Linked DNA regions of Homo sapiens: regions 1, 2 and 4 are each linked to region 3. Evidence: promoter capture Hi-C in 16 types of primary human blood cells and fetal thymus (Javierre and others, 2016). All regions are on one chromosome and are shown on one strand. Each heading gives the region's core, a stretch centred on a gene start or on the middle of the fragment in contact. The rest is flanking DNA. Distances are from core to core; before and after follow the strand shown. Region 1 overlaps CREBRF (CREB3 regulatory factor). Region 2 has its middle 35 kb from the start of NKX2-5. Region 3 holds the start of ATP6V0E1 (ATPase H+ transporting V0 subunit e1). Region 4 overlaps BNIP1 (BCL2 interacting protein 1).

Region 1 (2,806 bases), core at 230-2,729, 140 kb before region 3:
GGCATGAGCCACTGTGCTCAGCCACCACATAGATTTTTAATCTTCATTTCCCCATATAAAAACAGAGCAACTAAATGGCAAAACCATAAACCCATGGAAAACATTTACAAGTGATAAGGTATCCCTAGGAACATTCAAGAAGGTAGGAACAAACTACCAAAAGCTTTAAGACATGTATGGCAACAGCATTATCAATATTTATCAATATTTATGTGGATGGGCCAAAAGGAAGTAATGGACATGAGAACAAAAAAAAATTTCCATATAGCGAATAGGTTACCCACTGGCAAGTACAGCAGAGTCAACTTGAGAACTGCAGCTAACGCTGTGAGGGATTTTCTCCAACCCAATATTGAATACAAGGTGAGTACAAGGAGCCCACAGTCAGAAGTGAAGGGGCCCACAGTTGAGCCTCTGTGAACTCTGAAAATGGACCAGCCAGGACTCTTGCAGGACAGGAGCAAGCCGTGATAAAACAAAAAAAACTGGCCAGGTGCAGTGGCTCAGGCCTGTAATCCCAATACTTTGGGAGGCCAAGGCGGGCAGATCACTTGATGTCAGGAGTTTGATACTAGCCTGGCCAACATGGTGAAACCCCATCCCCAGTAAAAACACAAAAATCAGCCGGGCGTGGTGGTGTGCACCTGTAATCCCAGCTACTGGGGAGGCTGAGGCAGGAAAATCGCTTGAACCTGGGAGGCAGAGGCTGCAGGGAGCCAAGATCACGCCACTGCACTCCAGCCTGGGCGACAGAGTGAGACTCTGTCTCAAAACAAAACAAAAAACCCTGGGGTTGAAATTAACATTGAGCAAGAAAGGAACTAAAGATATGAAACAGAGATGGTCCAAATAAAATGAGGGAGGGAAGCAGAACAAGAAATCTCAGAAAGACAGGTGCCATTTTTTTGTTTTTGTTTCAGAGATGGGTTGCCATGTTGCCCAGGCTGGTCTAGAACTCTTGACCTCACATGATCCTCCTGCCTCAGCCTTCCAAGTGACTGGGATTACAGGAAAAAGCCACCAAACCTGGCGTGCCATGTTTTTTTGTTTTGTTTTGTTTTTTTGAAAAGGAGTCTCGCTCTGTCGCCCAGGCGGGAGCGCAGTGGCACAATCTTGGCTCACTGTAACCTCTGCCTCCTGGGTTCAAGCAATTCTCCTGCCTCAGCCTCCCAAGTAGCTGGGACTACCGGCGCGTGCCACCACACCCAGCTTTTTTTTTGTATTTTTAGTAGAGACGGGGTTTCACCATGTTAGCCAGGATGATCTCGATCTCCTGACCTCGTGATCTGCCTGCCTCGGCCTCCCAAAGTGCTGGGATTACAGGCGTGAGCCACCGTGCCCGGATGCCATGTTTTTAAATGTTAACTGAAAAGCGGAGACTCTGTGAAAAAAGAAAAGCTATTCTGAACCAAACCTTCTTTTAAAAGTTCAGAGGAACTAATTTCACACATATATGAACAACAGAGAAGTATCAAGGTCAGAATCCCACAACTTTTTCTAAGAAAAAAGAGAATAAAAGACATTAAAGAAAATGGCACGATACATGAAAGAACATAAATCAGAAATAGAATAACTAAGAAATAAGGTGACAGAATTCAGAAAATAATTAGAAATACAGGGGAAAATTCCTGAAAGTAAAAGGAACCTAAGATCAGCAAGTAATGACAGCAAATAATGCTTTAAGAGAAACAGAAGGTAAAAAGGAGAAATAATGTTAAAAATGAAGAGATAAAAATGATTCAAGAAAAAGTGACACAAGGCAGGAAGATCATTTGAAGTCAGGAGTTCGAGACCAGCCTGGCCAACATGGTGAAACCCCACCTCTACTAAAAAATACAAAAATTAGCCAGGTGTGGTGGTGGGTGCCTGTAATCCCAGCTACTCAGGAGGCTGAGGCAGGAGAATCACCTGAACCTGGGAGGTGGAGGCTGCAGTGAGCTAAGATTGTGCCACTGCACTACTGCCTGGGTGACAGAGCAAAACACTGTCTCAAAAAAAAAAAAAAAAAGAAGAAGAAGAAAGAAGAAGAAGGAAGAAAGAAGAAGAAAAGAGAAAAGAAAGACAGACGAATACTAAAGATGGGCCAAAAAGAGCCAATCTATAGATAATAAGAGTCCCTACAGAAGAAAAGCAAAGCAAGGGAACAGATCAAACACTAAAAACATTTGAAAGTACATATTGAAAGAACACAGTATAAACATAAAAATGTCAACTAAAAATGACCAACTCTAAGATATAACTTAGCAAAATCACTGGTATTTAAAGAAAAAATCCTTTTGGCACCTAAGCAAAAACAGCAAAGTACTTATAAGGAAAAAATAATTAGTCAATATTGGCTTTTCTTTTTTCTTTTTTTTTTTTTTTTTTTGAGACAGAGTTTTGCTCTGTCACCCAGGCTAGAGTGCAGTGGTCTAATCTTGGCTCACTGTAACCTCCACCCCTCCTGCATTCAAGCGATTCTCCTGCCTCAGCCTCCCAAGTACCTGGGATTACAGGCACCTGCCACCACGCCCAGCTAATTTTTGTATGTTTAGTAGAGACAGGGTTTTACCATGTTGGCCAGGCTGGTCTCGAACTCCTGACCTCAAGTGATCTGCCCGCCTTGGCCTCCCAAAGTGTTGGGATTACAGGCATGAGCCACCAAGCCCAGCCAGTATTAGCTTTTCTATAGCAACACTTTATGCCAAAAGAAAATGGAGACTCATATTCAAGATACTCAAGGAAAGAAAATACGAGTTGAGGATTTTATACCTGGTAAAACTGACTTTCAAGTGTAAAGGAGTACATAAGCTTACCAAACATATAG
Region 2 (3,140 bases), core at 229-2,728, 220 kb before region 3:
GGAAACACAAATCTGTCCCCTTGATGTCCTCATTCAACATTCTATCATGCCTTCCAGTCACTAGACCCAAGGCCATAAACTAGTTTTGTTTGGCCCAGGCAGGGCTAACTTTAAAAAACGAGCACAATGTATGTGATCTTTATGAATATTTATGTCACAGCTGTAAAGATTATACCAGGAGCTCAGAAAATGGCCTCCTGTTCCTCCTCGGCATAGCCAGCAGGGCTCGGGGAGTGGGGCTCTGTGCTGGTCCCAATGGACTTCTCTTTTGTCCTGCATCATCTTGGTTCCAGGTGGCCTGGAGTGCACAGGACTCACACTGCTGTATGGAGCTTCAGACTGTCCGTGGGACCGAGCCTTTCCCTGAGGCCTCTGAGTGGCAGCTCTCTCAACAGCCTCTGAGTTCCTCCCCTATATAAACTGCGAAATTTACAAATCCAGGTCATGAACCTCCTGAGAAATTGGATCCCTGTTCCCATGTGGCAGCAACTAGAGAAGCTCCGTGGCAGCTTGACCTGAGGTATCTTCATCCACTACACCACAGTCCCCACCACTCCCTATTGCTCCCCAATAAAATGATGGTGCCAATTAAAAAAAAATTTTTTTAGAGACGGGGTCTTGCTCTGTCACCCAGGCTAGAGCACATTGGCATGATCATAGCTCATTCTAGCCTTGAATGCCTGGTCTCAAACGATCCTCTCTCCTCAGTAGCTGGGACTACAGGCGCATACCACTGACCCCAGCTAGTTGTTTTTCTTATAGCAGTTTAGAACAGAGAAAGATTTCTATATACATGTCTTGGAGAATTAGAGATAGATGAAGAGGGTCCTTTGTTTCAAGGAGAACAGCAAAGAGTATATTTCTTGGTGAAAAGAAACATCCAGCCTGCCACATGGCCTGCCTGGTCCCTGTAGGCCTTAGATTTGCAGCCCCTGATCTGAGGAAAAAATCTAAATTCCTCTGCATGGTATAATGAAGTTGTATGATGCAATGGTTAGGATAAAGTTAGGCTGCTACAACAAAAAGACCCAAACTACAATTACCTAAACAAATGAGAAGGTTCTATCTTTTTTGTGTAAAATTTGCTCTGATTTGTGGCTTGATGGTATTGGGAATCCAGGCTCTACTTATCTTCTGCAATTCATTCTTAACATGTGGCAGCCATGTCTCTAACAGAATCATTGGGTAAAAAGTAATTTTTAAAATGCAGGAGCCACCTCCTGGTCTTAGATGGCTCCTTCACCCCAAGAAGGGAAGGGGAGCACTCTTGTTCCTTTTTTTTTTTTTTTTTTTTTTTTTGAGACAGAGTTTCACTCATGTTGCCTAGGCTGGAGTGTAATGGGGCAACCTTGGCTCTATGCAACCTCCGCCTCCCGGGTTCAAGCGATTCTTCTGCCTCAGCCTCCCAAGTAGCTGGGATTACAGGAATGCGCCCCCACACCTGGCTAATTTTTATTTTTATCTTTTGAATTTTTAGTAGAGACAGGGTTTCTTCATGTTGGTCAGGCTGGTCTCGAACTCCTAACCTCAGGTGATCTGCCCTCCTCGGCCTCCCAAAGTGCTGGGATTACAGGCGTGGGCACCACGCCTGGCTCGTGTTCCTTTAAGGGCACAATCCAGAACTTTCACTCATCTCATTATCTGAAATAGTCACCTTGCCATACCTACCTAGCTGCAAGGGAGGCTGACAAATGCAGGGTTAAGCTGATATTCATGTTAATGCCCATCAGGAAATTCAGTTACTCTATATAGAGGAGAAAAGGAACAATCCCTGCCACATGACAAGCCCTTCCCTCCAGCCTCATCTCCCACCTGCTGCCTCCAGAAATTTACTCTCTGGCAGCACTTAACCACTTGTAGATTCCCAGCAGCCATGATCTATCTCACCCTGCACCTTAGCATGTGCTGCTCCCTCTGCCGGGAATACCCTTCCCAGTCTGACTCCCTGTAAGTCCTCCTCATCCTTCAAGTCTCAGGTCAAGGGAGGCCTCTTCCATCCTGCCTCTGCCACCTGCCCCAGCTGAGCTCAGCATTCCCTTTACAGGACTTATTTTATACTTGATGGGAGCTCAGACCCTAGGGCCAGACTGCTGAGGCTACGTTCTGCTCTTACAGGACCTTGTGACCTAGGGCCAGTTACTAACTTATCTGGACCTCAATGCTCTCATTCATAAAATGAGAATAGTAGGACCTACATCACAGGGTTACTAAGCCAAATAAGAAAAAGAGCTGGATGCAATGGCTTATGCCTGTAATCCCAGCATTTTGGGAGGCCAAGGTGGACAGATCACCTGAGGTCAGGAGTTCGAGACCAGCTTGGCCAACACAGTGAAACCCTGTCTCTACTAAAAATACAAAAATTAGCCGGGCGTCATGGTGCGCACCTGTAATCCCAGCTACCTAGGAAGCTGAGGCGAGAAAATTACTTGAACCCAGGAGGTGGAGGTTGCAGTGAGCCAAAATCATGCCACTGCACTCCAACCTGGGCAACAGAGTGAGACTCTGTTGAAAGAAAGAAGGAAGGAAGGAAGGAAGGAAGGAAGGAAGGAAGGAAGGAAGGAAGGAAGGAAGGAAGGAAGGAAAGAGAGGGAGAGAGGGAGAGAAGGAGAGAGAGGGAGGAAGGAAGGAAGGAGAGAAGAAAGAAAGAAAGAAAGCAAGAAGGAAGGAAGGAAGGAAAGAAAGAAAGAGAGAGAGGGAGAGAGAGAGAGGAAGAGGGAGAGAGGGAGAAAGGGAGGGAGGAAGGAAGGAAGGAGAGAAGAAAGAAAGAAAGAAAGAAAGAGAAAGAAGGAAGGAAAGAAGAAAGAAAGAAAGGAGGGAGGGAGGGAGAGAGGAAGGAAGGAGAGAAGAAAAAGAAAGAAAGAAAGAAAGAAAAGAGAGAGGGAGGGAGGGAGGGAGGAGGGGAGGAGGGGAGGAACGGAAAGAAAAGAAAGGAAGAAAGAAAGAAAGTAAATCTCTTAGCATAGTGCCTGTCACATAGTAGGTACTTGATAGACATTAGCCATTATCATCATTATTATTATCTGTTGAGTATTTATTCTGTGGCCAGCCCTGTGCCAAGGACAAGGAACCCAACAATCAGTAAGGGTCCCATTGGAGCTCACACTATGGAGGGCATGTGTGGTAGATTCGTTTATCATTGC
Region 3 (2,932 bases), core at 274-2,773:
ATTAGGGAAGTAGTAAAAATCTTTTTCTTTCTTTTTTTTTTTTTTTTTTGAGACGGAGTCTCGCTCTGTCGCCCAGGCTGGAGTGCAGTGGCGCGATCTCGGCTCACTGCAAGCTCTGCCTCCTGGGTTCACGCCATTCTCCTGCCTCAGCCTCCCGAGTAGCTGGGATTACAGGCGCCCGCCACCACGCCCGGCTAATTTTTTGTGTTTTTAGTAGAGACGGGTTTCACCGTGTTAGCCAGGATGGTCTCGATCTCCTGACCTCGTGATCCGCCCGCCTTGGCCTCCCAAAGTGCTGGGATTACAGGCGTGAGCCACGGCACCTGGCCAAAAATCTTTTTCTTTTAATAAAGACAATAGAACTATTCACTCAACAGGTATTTATTGGGTGCCTCCTGTGCATACAAGGTACTATGAAAACCAGGCACTATGAAGCCACCAATTAGGTTCAAGAATAAAGCAAGAGATGGTGTTTCTGACAAACTGACTTCAGTCGAAGTTTCACCTCTCATCATCTTGAACTGAGAAAAAAATGACTGAGAAGCAAAAGAGGAACCAGGAAGAGGGTGTTCCAAGGCTCCTTTGAAGATTAAGCCTCTATTTTATACTACAGTTAAAAAGTTTAATTCCAAAAGAGACAAAGCTCTAACCAACAAAGAAGTCTGGAAAAACAAAATCTTTCTTAGCCAATCATTCTAAGCACTTCTTACACTCACATACAAGAGCCGGAGCGCCCTCCAAAAGGCATGACGCAGGGGTTTCTCAACAATACCTCCTGCTCTTTGGTAATTAATCTCGCTTTAGATCAGGCCCCAACCGCCTCCTGGCGCCCACTAGATGCAAGGCCTGGGCTCAATGTTGTCGAAGGAGCTTGTTCTGTACGCAACCGCGACAGCATGGGAGGCAGAGAAGCCAATTTCTGTTTTATTTATTTGATCCTTAAGTTCAGGCAAACGAGGCCTCATGTGGGTGGAAGGCAGGGCTAAAGGGGGACAGTCGACTAGGGACAAACCCCAGTTTCTCCCAGATTCGGCCTGCTCATTTCCGACTGCACCTCCCCACACAGGACTATGATGAGAAAAAATTCCCCTGAAACTCGTTTCCAAGGGGGGTCCACCAAAGGTCACCCTCCACTCGCTCAGGCCGGAGGACACTGAAGCTGCTGCGAAAAGGAACACAAGGAGTTCCGCCGGGTCGGGGGCCTGACTCTGCAGCGCGGGGGGCGCCCATGCAACGTTCTCTGACCCGTGTGGGGGTCGTGCCTTTCCCCGCCCCGGCCTGCTAGCTCCTCACCGCCCGTTCCTCCCAAGGCGGGCCTCACGCACTTACCCCCGGTTAGGACCCTTAGGGATGAACCAAGGCACCAAGAAGCCGACGAAGCCCCAGAACACGCTCATCACAATGAGAGGCACAGTGAGGCCGTGATACGCCATGGTCGCCGCCTGAGCGCCAACCCCTACCCCGTCGCCTCACTCGGATCCCACCAGGAAGTGTCAATAGCTGACCGCGTGACCAGCGTGTGCAAGCCCCGCCTCCCGCGCCCCCACGTGACCCGCGCGCCGGCCTCCGCCCCTCGGGGAGCCCAGAGGCAGAGCCCCGCCTTCGCCTGGCTGTCTCCTGGCTGCAGCTCCTTGGAGGCATGTCGCTCACCCCAGAGCTAGGGATTCGGTCACCCGGGGCTCAGCAAAGTGTTCTGATGAGAACTTGGCCCTTTTAGACAAAGAGTGTAGTTATCTACAGCCTCATCTACTTATGCAACAGACATAGAGAACTTAACAATAGTTGTCCCTTACTATTCTGAATTCCCGTGTGCCTGGCACTGGGCCATGATCTTTAAGTTCATGAGCCCCAGGCCGGGTGCGGTGGCTCACGCCTGTAATCCCAGCACTTTGGCAGGCTGAGGCAGGCGGATCACTTGAGGTCAGGAGTTCGAGACCAGCCTGGCCAACATGGTGTAACCCTGTCTCTACTAAAAATACAAAAATTAGCTGGGTGTGGTGGTGCGCGCCTGTGGTCCCAGCTACTCAGGAGGCTGAGGCAGGAGAATCAATTGAACTCGGGAGGTGGAGGTTGCAGTGAGCCGAGATTGCGCCACTGCACTCCAGCCTGGGCAACAGAACAACACTCTGTCTCAAAAGAAAAAAAAAAAAGTGCATGAGCCCGTGTTGAACTCCTCACTTCAGCCTATGAGGTAATTGTAATTATTATCCCCACTTTGCAGTTGAAGAAACTGAGGCCCAGGGAAGAGGATAAGGATCTTGCCCAAAGTCACATAGTAAGTGGCAGGGCCAGGATTCAACCCCTGATTATCTGATTTTCAAGGCCAGAGCTCTTAACTAGCGCACCACTATTTATCTTGTGTGCTGTGCCAGGCTCTGGAGTTACAGAAGTCAATCAGGCACCCCTGAGGGAGTTCACATTCTGGGGAGCAGATGACCTTGCAAACAGGCGACTCAATGCAGTGTGAAAGTAAGTGGACGACCCTGCAAGGCTTTCTACCCAACTCGTCCTTGCTGAGCCTTGAAAGACAAGTAGAAATTAGCCAGAATGGTAAGAAGAAAAACAGGCCAGGCATGGTGGCTCACACCTGTAATCCCAGCACTTTGGGAGGCCGAGGCGGGCAGATCACCTGAGGTCAGTAGTTCAAGACTAGCCTGGGCAACATGGTGAAATCCCATCTCTACTAAAAATACAAAAATTGGCCAGGTATGCACCTGTAGTCCCAGCCACTCAGGAGGCTGAGGAACAAGAACCGCTTGAATCCCTGGGAGGCAGAGGTTATAATGAGCTGAGATCGCACCACTGCACTCCAGCCTTGGCGACAGAGTGAAACTCTGCCTCAAAAAAAAAAAAAAAAAGAAAGAAAGAAAAAGAAAGGTAAAACAGTTTTGTTTGTTTGTTTGTTTTTTGAGACAGGGCCTTGCTCTGTCAC
Region 4 (3,146 bases), core at 332-2,831, 180 kb before region 3:
AGAAACAGGGCTAGCGCAAGGAAGATGAGAAGCTTGTCCGTCAGCTCCCGGCGATTGTATTTTGTGATAAGCTTCCGGCCCAGCTGGATGGTGCCCGACATGGACTTAAATTCTTCATTTGCATCCAGGATCGTTCGTGAAGAAGTGACTGAAACAAAAGAGGAAGGAGGCCCAACTCAGAGACTGCAGCTCAAGATCCAAAGACCTCACTCTGCTGGCTGGGGTGCTGATAAAAACCAGCATTCTCAAGTGAGTTCCTCTGAGCTGGAATCAAAGCATGTGGAGACCAGCCAAGGAGCTGACAAGGAAAGGCTCCTCCCCAGGTCCCATCAGCTCCAGAGAGTGAGGGGGGGTTTGTCTGGGAGTCCTTGAACATGAGCGTCACCAGGGAGAAGGGCAGAAGAGGCTTGCTCACCCAGCCACCTCCTCAGCTCTCTGAAGCAGATGGACGCTGCTCAGGGAAACCACCAGCCACAAAATCAACCCAGGGATCGTGGGCAGGCACTGTGAGGTCTGTGTTGGGGCAGCAGCCAAATGCACCAGAACCTTCCACCTATGAGGTGCGGCCTCCAGGACATCTGCTGGCCAGACCGGCACTTTGCAGGATCTCAAAAGGGCAAGGGTGTCCCGGGCTCTGCCGTAAGCCCTCACACATACCAGTCCCTCAGGCCAGGGATACTGGCTGTAGCTTTAAGGAGGTGACACCTAAGAAGAGGCCCACGTCCCTTAAGGAATCACTGTCCCCAGAGTCAGATGTATTTCTGAATATGGGTATCTGGGCCTGACGCTGAGGGTAGAAGGTGTACCTGGCGAGGTTCTCCCACAAAACATAGCAAGGCATCATCAGAACAGCCATTGAATAGAACACATTAAGTGAAAAGGGAAAGTATAAAGGAACGCCTGTGAAATGTTTCCATTTAGGTAAGAAACAGGGAGATAAATGGTATTTCATTTGCTTAAGTTACAAAAGCTTGGAGGATCACAAGATATTTTTTAAGACACTGGTTACAGAGGTTGCCTCTGGGAAGTGGACCAGAGGGCTGGCAGGTAGGGGTCAGCTGGAGGTCAGAACAGAGAGTGATCTTTTTTGTGTCCCTTTTGTACTCTCCAGAGCTGTGCTGACCAATATGGCAGCCCCTAGACATGCGAGGCTGCTGTGCATAGAAAAACGTGGCTAATGCAAATGGAGATGTCAGGAGATGTAAGTGTCAAACCCACACAATGTTTCTTTTCTTTTTTTTTTTGAGATGCAGTCTCACTCTGTCACCCAGGCTGGAGTGCAGTGGCGTGATCTTGGCTCATCACAACCTCCACCTCCCAGGTTCAAATGATTCTCCTGCCTCAGCCTCCCCAGTAGCTGGGACTACAGGCATGCACCACCACGCCCAGCTAATTTTCTTTTTGTATTTTTAGTAGAGACAGGGTTTCAACATGTTGGTCAGGCTGGTCTCGAACTCCTGACCTCAAGTGATCTGCCCGCCTTGGCCTCCCAAAGTGCTGGGATTACCGGCATGAGCCACCGCGCCTGGCCAAAATCCACACGATGTTTCAAAGACTTAATCTAAGAAAAAGGAATGTAAAATATCTCAATAGTTTTTAATATTAGTTTTACATTGAAATTATAATATTTTACATAATGGGTTAAATAAACATCTTACTAAAATTAATTTCTTATGTTTCTTTTTACTTTTTAACATGTGCCTACTGGAAAATTTAAAGTTACATACGTGGCTGCTGTTGCGTTTCTATGGCAGTCCTGGGCTAGAGTTTTCTTATCCTTCTCTATGCTGTATGTGTTACCTTTTTAAAAATTAAAAGCTAATAAGTAAATAGGATAAATTATCAGAGGAAACACAGCAGCGTTTTGAAAATGACAGATAAAAGGAGAAAAACAAACACTCACAGAACAGGAATCCCTCTCCGCCTGCTTTCTCCACGCCTGCCTGCTGCGATTTCAAAACCCTGAGATCTTGCTAAGTAAAAATCTAATAGGCCTTTCTTTTTAAACTTTATTATTACGGAGAATTTTGAACCATCACAGAGCAGACAGCATAATATCATGAAATGCCATGTGTCCACCACCCATAACCAAGAACCACCAACCTCTGAAATCCTGCTCCCCCTCCCCCCAACTGCAACTACTCCTGCAATTGTGGAGCAAATTCCAGACACCATATTCCTAATAAGCTTTTTGTTTTAAAATTATGGTCCTAGTAGGCTTTTAAATCAAGCTGAATTTGTGAGGCATAAGGAAAGGGTTAAGAACTGTATTCTTCTCTTTTCTTCAATAGTTATCGCTTGTACAAAATGGGCCCCAAGAACACCGGGACCCTCTCAACACCCCAGAAGCCACCAGCATTTGTGTTTCCTTCCCACTGTTAGCGGGGGGTATGCTGTCGCCACACCAGAGCATAAAAGCCCTGGGCTCAGAGGCCAAGTTGTCGCCTTGCTCCCTCTCTCTCCAAGGCCTCTCCCACAGCACACGCTGAGAGGAAGCCCCTGGCTGGTTCCGAGCCCAGATGTTCAGGTAAGCTGCAAACTCAAGGAGTGACCTTGGGGTCACCTGCTTGCTTTCCTTTTGCTTCTGCCTATTTGGTGCACTGAAAAAACAGTGGTCCAAAATTATAATTTCTAGGGGTGATCATGGTATTGTAGTTATGGGGTTGCTTCTGCTTTTTCCCCAAAGAGTCCCTTATCTTTTAGAGAGATGTACTGAGATATTTATGGATGATGTCTGGGATTTGCTTCAAAATAATCCAGATGGGGGATGGGCTGAGGGTAGAACTGAAACGAGACTGGCTGGGGTAATGGACTCAGGGCTCAGGGGATTCAGGATACCATGCTTTCTCCTTTTGTCCACGTGTGCAATTTTCCAAAAGCGTTTCAAGGAGTAAACGCCCTTTTTCTGTTGTCTTATACTGAAGGACCCTGGAGAGGGCTGATACTCTTCTCCATCACAGAGGAGACACTCTGGGAAAACTATTGGAGGAAACCAGATGGTCTCAAGCAGTCTCTCCTGTAGCCTCTGATTCACATCTTTTAAAAGGAACTCATAGGAAAAATAACGTTGGGGAGTATAATTGTAAACTGAGGTCCTAGCAGTCCTACCAGCAGCTGATTCGCCAAACATCTCTTGGAGCAACCAT

The links. The method cuts DNA at HindIII sites, captures the fragments that hold promoters and counts their contacts. A CHiCAGO score of 5 or more calls a contact.
Region 1: a contact is called between a fragment that was not itself captured here and the fragment with the promoter of ATP6V0E1 in region 3, in 6 of 17 cell types (naive CD8 T cells, non-activated CD4 T cells, naive CD4 T cells and 3 more). The highest score is 6.2, in naive CD8 T cells.
Region 2: a fragment that was not itself captured here is called in contact with the fragment with the promoter of ATP6V0E1 in region 3 in 1 of 17 cell types (naive CD4 T cells); the score reaches 5.1 in naive CD4 T cells.
Region 4: a fragment that was not itself captured here is called in contact with the fragment with the promoter of ATP6V0E1 in region 3 in 1 of 17 cell types (non-activated CD4 T cells); the score reaches 6.8 in non-activated CD4 T cells.

Annotation. Positions count from the first base shown.
Region 1 is chr5:173,124,122-173,126,927 of GRCh38, reverse strand. All of the region lies in intron 8 of CREBRF (CREB3 regulatory factor), which reads right to left. Among named protein-coding and RNA genes, the nearest start is that of BNIP1, 19 kb to the left of the region's middle. The HindIII fragment of the contact is 2,627 bases long and covers 166-2,792 here.
Region 2 is chr5:173,198,427-173,201,566 of GRCh38, reverse strand. No RefSeq gene overlaps it. Among named protein-coding and RNA genes, the nearest start is that of NKX2-5, 35 kb to the left of the region's middle. The HindIII fragment of the contact is 4,940 bases long and covers 1-3,140 here.
Region 3 is chr5:172,982,362-172,985,293 of GRCh38, reverse strand. It overlaps ATP6V0E1 (ATPase H+ transporting V0 subunit e1), which reads right to left and starts at 1,523. Exons shown (of 4, transcript NM_003945.4): 1 at 1,330-1,523. The coding sequence starts at 1,433. RefSeq lists a silencer at 1,469-1,648 and an enhancer at 1,414-1,708. The HindIII fragment of the contact is 8,334 bases long and covers 1-2,932 here.
Region 4 is chr5:173,160,727-173,163,872 of GRCh38, reverse strand. It overlaps BNIP1 (BCL2 interacting protein 1), which reads right to left. Exons shown (of 6, transcript NM_001205.3): 6 at 1-148. Among named protein-coding and RNA genes, the nearest start is that of BNIP1, 18 kb to the right of the region's middle. The HindIII fragment of the contact is 1,217 bases long and covers 973-2,189 here.